2 separate regions of the Homo sapiens genome follow, and region 2 is linked to region 1. Evidence: promoter capture Hi-C in 16 types of primary human blood cells and fetal thymus (Javierre and others, 2016). All regions are on one chromosome and are shown on one strand. The core of a region is centred on a gene start or on the middle of the fragment in contact, and the rest is flanking DNA. Distances in the headings are between cores, read along the strand shown. Region 1 holds the start of SLC39A2 (solute carrier family 39 member 2). Region 2 holds the start of OR5AU1 (olfactory receptor family 5 subfamily AU member 1).

The links. The method cuts DNA at HindIII sites, captures the fragments that hold promoters and counts their contacts. A CHiCAGO score of 5 or more calls a contact.
Region 2: a contact is called between a fragment that was not itself captured here and the fragment with the promoter of SLC39A2 in region 1, in 1 of 17 cell types (M2 macrophages). The highest score is 5.9, in M2 macrophages.

Annotation. Positions count from the first base shown.
Region 1 is chr14:20,996,478-21,002,171 of GRCh38, forward strand. It overlaps SLC39A2 (solute carrier family 39 member 2), which reads left to right and starts at 2,816. Exons shown (of 4, transcript NM_014579.4): 1 at 2,816-3,084; 2 at 3,265-3,395; 3 at 3,639-3,689; 4 at 4,470-5,394. The coding sequence starts at 2,970. The coding sequence ends at 5,102. It overlaps LOC101929718 (a long non-coding RNA gene), which reads right to left and starts at 2,686. Exons shown (of 4, transcript NR_110139.1): 1 at 2,297-2,686; 2 at 1,203-1,337; 3 at 355-733. It overlaps METTL17 (methyltransferase like 17), which reads left to right. Exons shown (of 14, transcript NM_022734.3): 13 at 50-234; 14 at 308-558. The coding sequence ends at 413. RefSeq lists enhancers at 1-851, 2,875-4,074. The HindIII fragment of the contact is 5,548 bases long and covers 1,600-5,694 here.
Region 2 is chr14:21,155,059-21,161,252 of GRCh38, forward strand. It overlaps OR5AU1 (olfactory receptor family 5 subfamily AU member 1), which reads right to left and starts at 1,005. Exons shown (of 1, transcript NM_001004731.3): 1 at 1-1,005. The coding sequence starts at 814. The HindIII fragment of the contact is 340 bases long and covers 1,181-1,520 here.

The DNA.
Region 1 (5,694 bases), core at 1,566-4,065:
TTTTCCCATATCTTTTTCTTCTAAACAGTCTCTATGTTCCTTATCTTAGAACAAGAAACCAAAGGAAGAAAAGTTCTCTATGGTGATCCTTGCTCGGGGGTCTCCAGAGGAGGCTCATCGCTGGCCCCGTATCACTCAGCCTGTCCTTAAACGGCCTCGCCATGTGCATTGTCACTTGTGCTGTCCAGATGGGCACATGCAGCATGCTGTGCTCACAGCCCGCCGGCACGGCAGGTATGGGGGGTGTGACCAAAATCAGTGGGATGTGGCAGGAAGCTGCAGCCCACGCCAGCATCTGTTTCCACAGGGATTTGTATCGTTGTGCCCGTGTCAGCTCCTGGGGAGATCTTTTACCTGTGCTTACTCCGTCTGCGTTTCCTCCATCTACGGCTCAGGATCCCTCTGAGAGTTGATGAGGATGTGTAACAAGTATTTTCTTCTATCGTGCCTGCCAGGGCTGAAGCTGCCTGGTATCCAGGAGGGGAATGCTGGTATCCCCATATGTCTGTGTTTGTTTGAGATTTTTAATAATAAATAATAAATTTTTGAAGAATGGAAGTGGATTTTGTGATTCTTAAAAAGTGTAGAAGCTGGGCACGGTGGCATGTGTCTGCATTTCCAGCCACTCAGGAAGCTGAGGCAAGAGGATCACTTGAGCCCAGGTGTTAAGGCTACAGTGAACTTTGATTGTAACACTGCACTTCAGCATAGGTAACAGAGCAAGACGTCCTCCCTTAAAAAAAAAAAAAAAAAAAAAACATGTAAAAGGTATAGTTAATTATCCTGGCCTATCCTGTAATGAAGAGCTTCCTCAGATTTTTGGTGCCAGGCTTCCCACACAAATCTCAAGCTCGCCCTCTCCTATTGTGGCAGTTCAGAGCTCCATAAGCTCTTCGCTGTAATGATGAATGTGTAAGCTGATCATTAAAGCAGAAGTAGAAAAACCAGATTTCCATAAGCCCTTTGCTATAATGATGAATGTACAAGTTAAACATTAAAGCAGAAGCAAGAAAAATGGATAAGGAATCGGGGGAAACTGGTGCCTGAGTACGAAAGCCAGAATACAAAAAAAGCAAGCCCTTTAAAGCCCCACCTATACTTTCTCTACCTCAGATCTAGCTGAGTGATAAAAGCATTCCTGCACATACAACCCATCCCAGGACCAACTTAAGATTAAGAAACTTCTGTCTGCAAGTACTCACTCACTATGGTGGGATCAGCTGCAAAGCGAACTGTCCCATGCTCATGTTGATGGTTTTCTAGATACTGCCAACATGTTAGCTCTTTCTGGTGCCGATGAATTTCAAACGCGAACAGACACCCTTGATGTGGGTTTGCTAAGAAAATAGAAGAACAGGAAGAAAAGTTGCCAGGTTCAGACATCCCAGGGAAAAAGAAGCGTAAACAGCATTAGCAATCAGTGACTGATGATAATGCTGCAATAATGGGAATGGTTTTATTTCTAAATCAAATCGTTTATTGCTTTGTTTCTAAAAAACAAAAAAAAAACTTCTACCTGCAGACCCCTAGTTTAGATTAATTAGGAAACATTCCCGCAGGTAGTCATAGAGCTTGAATTGTATATAAAAGCTAAAGAAAAGCTTGTAACTTTGAGTTGGTCTGGTGTGCTACTCCGACCTCCCTGTAATCAGTTGCAGAAATAAACTCCCGTCTTTCCCAGTCTGTCTGTCTGCATCTCATTACCGGACCACAAGAACAAGCAGCAGGACCAGTAACACTGTAAGAATCATCCAGTAACACTGTAAGAATACTGCTTCTACCAGAGGCCAGGACTTCCCTAGGAAAATAATCTGGAGTAGCAAGGAAAGCTGCCTCCAGAGCTCTGAGAACTGGCTCAACAGGTCTCAGGGTTGTTATGTGGGCCACCTGAATAGGGGAATCAGCAGCTGCCTGGCCTCTTGTACTAACGCCTTCCCTTCTGTCTTTCCCAGGGTCCCTCAGCTACCCTAGAGTATGTATGGGAAATGCCCCAGACATTTCCATCAAGAGTGATTCCCATCAGAACTGAATCTTCTACCCCCACCTCTCTATATCCAGGTAGAATCCTCCCATTCACTCAGTTCATTTCTGTTTTCCCCTAAGCCTTGCTGTTTCAGGGCTAGAGCAGCTTCCTTTGTCTTAAACCTTAAATGTCTTTTTTTCCACAGTTCTTACCAGGAAACAGGCACAGTTAGAAGTTGTAACAGTATAAATGTTGTAATACCAGACATCTCAACTCATTCCTCTCAAAACTGATCCCAATCAAAAGAGAAAGAAAAAAAACAAATCAACTTACCACTAGACATTTCCATGCCTGGAGCTATTTTTCTGGGGTTACAGGAAAGGGTAGTTCCCTCATGTGGGTACTAGTTCCCACAGAGTAGCACCAGCACCACCTCTCAGCCCCACCTCTTTACCTCCAGGTGGCCCCAAATCTCTGAAAGCGGGTGGTTCAAGTATCAGCATTGCAACCTATAAGACTTGGGATGAGGTGGAGAGGGTATGGAAGGCTTAGATCAAACGTCCTGAGTGAGACAGGACCAGATTGTCCCCAGTACAAAATAGCTGGGAAGCAGCTACCATAGACTTTCCTATTTTGGATTAGACCAACCCCAAGCACATGAACTAAGACTATCCGTAGCTCTTGGATTAGTCATGCCATTGAAGAGGAGGAGAAGACGCCACTGGGCTGTGCCTGGCAGGGAGTCTGGAGTTTCTGGTTTCCAAGCTCAGGAAGGCGTGAACCAGGGGAGGGGCCTCCATGCAGGGGGAGGGCTAGAAGCTGGGGCAGGATCTGTCAGCTCTGCAATGCTGCAGAAGCAGAAGCAACACAGAAAGAAGATACCAACAGCCTCCTGAAACTCACGAGAGTGGACACTCCAGTGTTGACCACCTAAGATACCACTCCTGCTCCAAAGATTACAGCTCCCTTGTCATTCTGACTCCTGGGCTTACCCTACACCCCAGAGATGGAGCAACTACTAGGAATAAAACTTGGCTGCCTGTTTGCCCTGTTGGCTCTCACTCTGGGCTGTGGCCTTACTCCCATCTGCTTCAAATGGTTCCAGATTGATGCAGCCAGAGGTATAGCCCTACCCCATCTTTGTTCCATAGCCTGAGTCTCACCTCAACCCTGTCCTGATACCTTGCTCTGATTCTCTCACCATCCCCAACCTTGGGATATTGAGTGCTGCCTGCTGCTCTTTACTCACCTTTGTCTGTCTCCTCAGTGTCAAGTGGGTTGTAACTTCTGCTTTTTATTAGGTCATCACCGGCTAGTCCTCAGACTCCTGGGCTGTATTTCTGCTGGTGTTTTCCTGGGAGCAGGGTTCATGCATATGACTGCTGAAGCCCTGGAGGAAATTGAATCACAGATTCAGAAGTTCATGGTGCAGGTGAGAGCAGAGATTTCAAGCCGCAGGTCTATGAGGCCAAAATGATAAACAGGACAAAGGGAAGAGAGCGGGAAAGTGATGGAGCCAAGGACATGGGTGGAACGACAAGGAAAATGACAGCTCTTGTGTGGGATGGTGAAAGCAAGTCAGATTAGGCTTTAAGGAAAACAGAATTGCTGAAGGGACAGCACAGGAAGCTGTGCTGCTCCATCCCACATCTAATTTCTGCTGCTTTCTTCTTAGAACAGATCAGCAAGTGAGAGAAATTCTTCTGGTGATGCTGATTCAGCTCATGTAAGTACCTCCCACCATCCCCTATCTGGAGAGTGAGGAGAACCAGAGAGGCCTTTCATATCCAGACCCTTTTGAGAGGAATACATGAGGAGTACCAAGAATCCCTTCTGCTCCCTAGCTCAGACATCGTAGAGGAAAAGAGGAGCAAATCCAATCCTTTTGAGTTTATAGAATGCCAGGGAAAGCCCTTGTTTTACTCTTTCATTCTTTCCCTGGATCCTCTGATATACCTCACATCATTTGCCCATGTTTTTAACTCTATTGAGATTCTGTCCCTTAGCCCCTCTGGCAGTCTTTTGTTGTTGTTGTTTTTCGTTTGTTTGTTGAGATGAAATCTCTCTGTCGCCCAGACTGGAGTACAGTGGCACAATCTCGGCTCACTGCAACCTCTGCCTTCCGAGTTCTAGTGATTTTCCTGCCTCAGCCTCCTGAGTAGCTGGGATTACAGGCACGTGCCACCACACCTGGCTAGTTTTTGTATTTTTAGTAGAGACGGGGTTTCATCATGTTGGCCAGGCTGGTCTCAATCTCCTGACCTCAAGTGATCTGCCCACTTCAGTCTCCCAAAGTGCTAGGATTACAGGCATGAGCCACTGTGTCCGGCCCACTCTGGCATTCTTGTTGTTGCATGGCCATGTCTACTCTTGGCTTCATTTCCCCTACCCTTTTTTGTGTTCTGTTACCACATTTTCTCATTCTCTTCAATCTCCCAATTCCATGTCCATCCAATGTATTGCCTACCCTTCCTTTCCATCTCACAGCCCTTCTTTTTGTTTCTAGATGGAGTATCCCTATGGAGAGCTCATCATCTCCCTGGGCTTCTTTTTTGTCTTCTTTTTGGAGTCGCTGGCATTGCAGTGCTGTCCTGGGGCTGCTGGAGGATCGACAGTGCAGGACGAAGAATGGGGTGGGGCTCATATCTTCGAACTCCACAGCCATGGACATTTACCCTCACCCTCAAAGGGTCCCCTCCGAGCCCTTGTCCTCTTGCTGTCACTCTCCTTTCACTCAGTGTTTGAAGGGCTAGCTGTGGGGCTGCAGCCGACAGTAGCAGCTACCGTGCAGCTCTGCCTTGCTGTCCTGGCTCATAAGGGGCTTGTGGTGTTTGGTGTAGGAATGCGGCTAGTGCATTTAGGTACCAGCTCACGATGGGCAGTGTTCTCCATACTATTATTAGCTCTCATGTCCCCCCTGGGCCTAGCCGTAGGGCTGGCTGTGACTGGAGGGGACTCTGAAGGAGGGCGGGGCTTAGCCCAGGCTGTGTTAGAGGGTGTGGCAGCTGGTACCTTCCTGTATGTCACCTTCCTAGAAATTCTTCCACGGGAGCTAGCTAGTCCTGAGGCCCCTCTAGCTAAGTGGAGCTGTGTAGCCGCTGGTTTTGCCTTCATGGCCTTTATTGCCTTGTGGGCCTGAGAGATTCCTGGCTTTTCTGATGGACCTATTTAGGACAACCTCTCTATCCCCAGGGAGACCTCCCAAATGGCTTTGACCCTCAGACATTTCTTTACTCAGACTAAATAGCATTCAGTAGGACTGGACTGGACCCCAGGTTTCCTTTACATGAGATCCCATTTCTCACCCTGGACTAAGACAAAGATATTTAGGTTGAGCAGCTATTAATTGGAGAATTGGTACAGAGACGCTCCAGATTTTATTCTTATCCCATTTATGCTACTGTGTGTAATAAAATGCCCATTTTACCCTCCTTCAGCCATTCTGGATTTCATTTCTCCTGGTTGCCTAGATGCTACCTGGCACAGGAAGTGGTGGAATGGGGAATGGGAAGGATGAGTGTTGAATGCAGTATTTTATTCTGGAATTAGGGCTCCTAGCCATCCTGTCAGTTGCAGCCACACCCCTAGACATGGCACCTTGCTAAAATTCCCCTCCCACCTTACCCACTGTAGTTGAGAAAATGAGCCAGTTCCCAGCATTTAAAAGGAAAGAAAGTTAAAAGCCAAAATGACGTGGATCGATTATGTTCCTACACTTACCATAACCACCC
Region 2 (6,194 bases), core at 101-2,600, 160 kb after region 1:
GGTCCTGGGTCAAGGAGTAGCTGGACCTGGGGCGCAGGTACATAAAAAGTGTTGTGCCAAAGAAGAGGCAGATGGCAGTGAGGTGGGATGCACAGGTGGAAAATGCCTTAAACCTGCCCTGGGCCGAGCTCATTTTCAGGATGGTGTTGAGAATTAAGAAGTAGGAGATCAAGATGGTGAGGGTGCAGCTCAAAAGGTTGAAACCAGCAAAAATGAAGAGCAGGATCTCACACAGTGAGGTGTCTACACAAGACAAGGACAGGATGGGTGGCCCATCACAGAAGAAGTGAGTGACGACATGAGCACCGCAGAATTTCAGACTAAAGATACAGCCAGTGTGGATAAGAGAATTGAGGAATCCTGCACTGTAGGAGCCCACAATCAGCGAGGCACAGACCTCAGGAGACATGATGGTTGAGTAGAGCAGGGGGTTACAAATAGCGGCATAGCGGTCATAGGCCATGGCAGCGATGAGATAGCACTCACTGGTGGCAAAACCCGCATAGAAGAACATCTGAGTCATGCAGCCAAAATAAGAGATCACTTTCCTCTTGGCCAAGAAGTTCACCAGGGTCTGGGGCACAACCGTGGAGGAGTAGCAGAAATCCAAGAAGGAGAGGCTCTTCAGGAGGGAGTACATGGGTGTGTGCAGGGTGGCACTCACATGGATCAGGAGGAACATGACCAGGTTCCCCAGCAGAGTGGCTGTGTACATGCCCAGGAACACCACGAAGAGCAGCCTCTGGAGCTGGGGGTCAGTGGTGAGGCCCAAGAGCTCAAACTCCATCCCTTGGCTCAGGTTTGCCCCTTTCATCCTTCTCCAGTGCTCTGCGATGGAGAAAGAAGGCACCACCATAAATGAGGTTGAACACCTGGGGCTCTGACTGGGTTTAATTCTGCCTAAGGACAGCCTTCTGAAGATGAGTCTTATTGAGGGCATTTGGCTTTGCAGATGAAACTCTGTCATAGAGAGGATCTTTTCTCCTTGGTTGGTTGGTTAGTTGGTAAGCATTACTTAAGCAGCAATGGAAAATATAAGAGAAATATCTACAATTGGTCTTGGGGATCTTAAAAATTCTAAGTAATGAAACAGTCACTCACCAAGTATATATTCATAGTTTTCCATTTGCTTAGCTCTGTGTTCTCCCTATCAGGAATTCAAGAGTGCCTGACCTTGGGAAGCTTATATTCTACAGACAGTATATTTTGTGTTTAAGCCACACATACTGTGGTATCAGACTGCTAAGGTTCAAAGTTAGGACTTTGCCATTAACTAGCTGTGTAATCTTGGGAATGTTACTTTACCTTTCTGAGTTTCCATTTTTCCATCTGTGAAATAGGGATAATAGCAACTGTCTATAAAGATTATTATAAAAATTCAATGAGTTATTTCATGCAGAGAAGTTGAACAAATTCCAGCACGTTGAGGAAGTTCAAAGAAGGTTAGCTATGAGCATGCTCACTAAGAAGATAGATCCAAAACCTAAATAAACATGATAAATGAGATGAACCCACAACAAAGCTTAGCAAGCAACCTACCACCTAACAGTATAGACAGAGACACACGTGCTATGCAAGCGTGACTAAACAGGCTTTCAGAGAGGCTGTAGATGGCTGATGGGTCAGCTATAAAACTGGCCCTGTGAAATCAGCACTACCCAGGCAATAATGTGAATACTTAAGGTAACAAGGGCTGAGAGTGTGGAGAGATGGAGGTAGTGTAAGACTGCATGTGGGAGCCTCCACCAACGGGAGAGTCTCCTCATCATCCATAAAGCTGCCCATCATTTCCAGAGAACAAAATCACCCTGGACTCAGAGGATGTTATGGCCAGTAGGAAAGGAACGAAGTGAGTGAGTCTTTGTGAAAATGCCTTTTCTATTTAGAGAGTGAACAAAGCTTGAATGCATCACCTAAACACCACACTCTCCTCTGTTCCATTGGCTCCTCTACCACGTGTCTTCCCAAGTTACCTCTGGGTGCTGAGCCAGTTAAGCACCCTGTGCTCTTGGGTGAAGACTCTCAGTTACAAAGACTTTGAAGCTAACAGATGTGGCTGAGTAGGACAAAAAGGGGCAAAAGTGAGCTGCCTCATCCTGCCCTGAGGAGAGTAAGCGAATAACACACCTGTGAAAAGTGTTGGGAGAATTTGGAGAGGAAAGAGCTGGATTGAGCAAGCAAACATTCTGACGAATTCCAATGACATAATTTCCAGAATCATCAAACTACCTGGGCAGGAGAAGATTCTGGACATATGTATAACTAAATTTAGTTGTCAGGCAGGGAATGAGGCACCATTTGTGTTGATAGAATACTGTGACTGGTGACAAGAAAAAGGCTTTTAGAAATGCCCAAAGAGGTAACATGCCCTAATAAAATTGAGACACAAAATATAAGTGCAAATTTGAACACAGAACATTAGCAACTGCTTTTAGAACTCATGGAATGCAATTCTGTGACTTATTTCATGTCACTTAGATGTAACATTCAGCTATCCTTACTCTAACAGCTGTCATTTTATAATAAATCTCACTATTGTAGAATGTGGGCAGTCCTAGATTTGGGTTGCAAATGTCTTTGGCGCCATTGGTGACAAAGGCCAATTCGACTTCAAGGCAAATTAGAGGAATTCAGATAAATGACTGTAAAACTCCCAGAGTGGAAATAACTTGCAGGCACTTTAAGAAAATAGAAAGGTGGTCATTAGGAGTGGAGTAGAATTTTCAGACCCAGCTTCCCATCTTCTTTCCTTGGTGGGCTGTTTCAATTTAGGTAATAGGTCTGCAAGTATCTCTCTGATTAAAAGAACAAAAGAAGAGAAAAATAGAAATATGTGCAATGCTCCAGACAGTATGGATGAGGCAGGAAGCATACACTGGGGTGGAGTGGTGGGATGGGATGGGGTAGGGTGGTGGGTAATACAGTGGATAGCTGATCAGAGCCTCCAGATTTATCATTTACTTTAAACCCACACTCTCTCTTCTGCTCCCCTCTCCTCTTTCATCTCTCTTCACCAATCTGCACTAAATTCAAAATTCTTAAGAATATAGAGTGACTCAAGGAAAGGATTATGGAGAAATTGGCATCTCTGACAGTTGTTCAAAGGATGCTGGAATTACCACTATTTCTATTGGCTATTGTTTGTACCTGTGAATGAAATGTAGGAGGAAAACTTAAAGATGATCTTATCATATGGGAGTGGATTATGGAGTGGAGTGCATAAGAGTGAGAGCAAATGCCTGGGGCCTGTGGATGAGGGAGGCATAGGAAAGAAGCTCTGTTTATACCCGACTCATTGCCCCCATCCCTGGGATAGCACAGTGAGAGCACATGTGGATATGAAGGGCAGGCAGCCAAGAAAAGCAGCCAGTGAGATTCCCTGAGCAACAGTGATCCCAAACAATGGTTCTTAAACAGTAAGCTGCCTTGCCCAAGGTTCACAGGAGAAGCTTGTTACATGTGCAGATTCCAGGTCCCAACCCACAGAAAATTTGATCCAATAGGTCTATAGCTTGGCCCCAAAGTCTGGTGATTCTGACTGAGACAGGAGGTCTCTGAACCTCACTCTGAGAAACACTAAACCATGGGGTACTTGCAGGAGCAAACAGATCTTCCTGAGCCACATATACGTATCTCTTCCTAGCTTGCTGGATTTGTCCGTGTCCTGGGAAATCAGCCTGTGGGTAGGATGGTCATCCTGGACATGCTCTTCCCTCCAGAAGACCTATCTGTGGTTAACCATTTCCGGAAATCTGGGTTACTACCTGATGATAATCTAACACCAGAGCATTTCTTCCTTCAAAGTAGCTTCAGATGTCCTTCAGCAAACCATGTAATTCCAGCAAAGCACCTGGCTTGATGTCAGAGCTGTTGCTGTAGGGGTCAGAACACAAGTCTTCCATGGAAACACAGCAAAGACAAAGCCAGACTCTGCATTCATAGACTGAGTCTGGGGATCAGAGCCTGTCACCGACTTTAGTCTTTCACGTTGTCAGAGGTGTGAGGCAGCCCCACTCCCTGTGAGCTCCTCACAGCTGATCTTGTGCTGGCAGGAGCAACCCCAGAGCCATCTTTTCCCCTGGCAGCCCAGCAGCTCACCACTGGGGAGGAGGATGTGTTCACTGATTAAAGTTTAAAAGGCAGGTGAGGAAGTGGGACTAATTAGCCCCATGAAGGCCCATTAAAGTGTTTGAAAAGTTACTAGCATCTCTGAGAGTCTACCCATGAGGAAACAAGTGGCTGGGAAACTGGGAATGAGGGGACTAGATCCACACAGATCCCTGCAAATATGCTGCTCATTCGCCCCAAAACACTACTCCACCTTCACTCTAAACTTAACTCTTACGTGATTATCTGTATTTCCTCGACACTGGAAAACCAGGTTTTTCTTTCTTCTATGCCAGTTACCCAATGTACATTTGTGCTGTAGATGAGAGCTGAGGACCTTCCTGCCCTTCAGGGTTATAGTAAAGTTAGAGGCATGTTATGTGGTTCCCAAATATTTGGGAATTTTCTAGGTATCTTTCTGTTATTGATTTCTGATTTAAAAGCATATGGTCAGAGAATACATTTTGTATGACTTGATACTTTTGAATTTATTGAGACTTACTTTAAGGCCCAGAATAGGACCTATCTTGGGAAATGTTCTATGTCCACTTGAAAGGAATATATATTCTGTTTTGTTGAGTGGAGTGTTCTATCTGTAACTGCCAATTAGGTCAAGTTGGTTGATATTGTTGTTTGAGTCTTTCTAATCTGCTGCTAATCTCATCCAGTGTATGTTTTCATATCAGACACTGCAGTTTTCATCTACAGAAGTTTGTTTTCAGTCTCTTTTTATATCTTCCTGTCTACATTTTTTGTACATATGGAATACCATTATAACTGTTTTAATGTGCAGTACAGCTTTGAAATCAGACAGCTTGTTGTCAAATCCCTGCTTAACAATTTGTTAGCTAGGTGACATCTAGAAAGTTTATTAACTTTGCTGATACTCATTTTTCTCACCTGTAAAATGTGGATAATAATAGTACCCACCTCATATACCTGTTGATAAGACTGAATTTAATAAGACAACATTTGTAATGATCCCCACAATAAATATTTCTTATTTATTACTGCTTAACAAAGCACCCTAAAACTCAACGTTTTAAGCCAATCACATATTTGCTCAAATATCTGTAATCTTGGCTGGGCTCAGCTGAGTGGTTAGACTGCTGATGTTACCTGAAGTTACTCATGCAGCTACAGTCATCTAGAGCCTCAATTGGGGCTGGATGGTTCGGTATGGCTTCACTCACATACTTCAGTGTGACGGGCTGGAATAGCTGGAGGCTGCCTAGACCTTTCCCTTCATAGTATCTTCAGCAGAATTATCAGACTTTTCATCACATGGTGGCTCAGGGCCCAAAGAGAGATACAGAAGCTTCCAGGCATCTTAAGGCTGGACTCTGGAACTCTTCAAGATTATAATAAAATCAGAGGCATCTTACATAGTTTCCAAATATTTGGGAATCCTCTAGGGATCTTTCTGTTATTCGTTTTTAATTTAATAGCATATGGTCAGAGAATACACTTTGTATGACTTGATACTTTTGAATTTATTGAGACTTATTTTAAGGCCCAGAATATGATCTGTCTTGGTGAATGTTCTATGTCCACTTGAATGTTCTATTTCAACTTGAAATGTTGAGTGGAATGTTTTATCTATAACTTTCCAATTAGGTCTGTAACAACCAATTAGGTCAAATTGGTGGATACTGTTGTTGAAGTCTACTGTATCCTTTCTAAATCTGCTGTTAATCTCATCCAGTGTATGTTTTCTTATCAGACATTGTAATTTTCGTCTACAGAAGTCACCAAGGTCACTTGGGCTGCATTCTACTGGTCAAAGAAAGTCAAAAGGCCAGCACAGATGCAAGGAGGAAAGAAAACAGACTCTATCTCTTGATGGTGGCAATGGCATGTACGCATAGCATTGTGAAGAACTGTTAGCCACAAGAGTGTCAGTCAGAAGAATTGCCATCTTTGCAAAAGATTTAGCATAATAGATCGCAGTCGATCATAGTAAATATTAGCTATCATTATTCTTGAGTTTATGTAAACTTGGAGTTGAAGATGTGGCCAAAAGGGCATGAATATAGGTAGGAACTGAACTTAAATTTAAAAAAAGCACAAACTGAGACAAGGAAAAA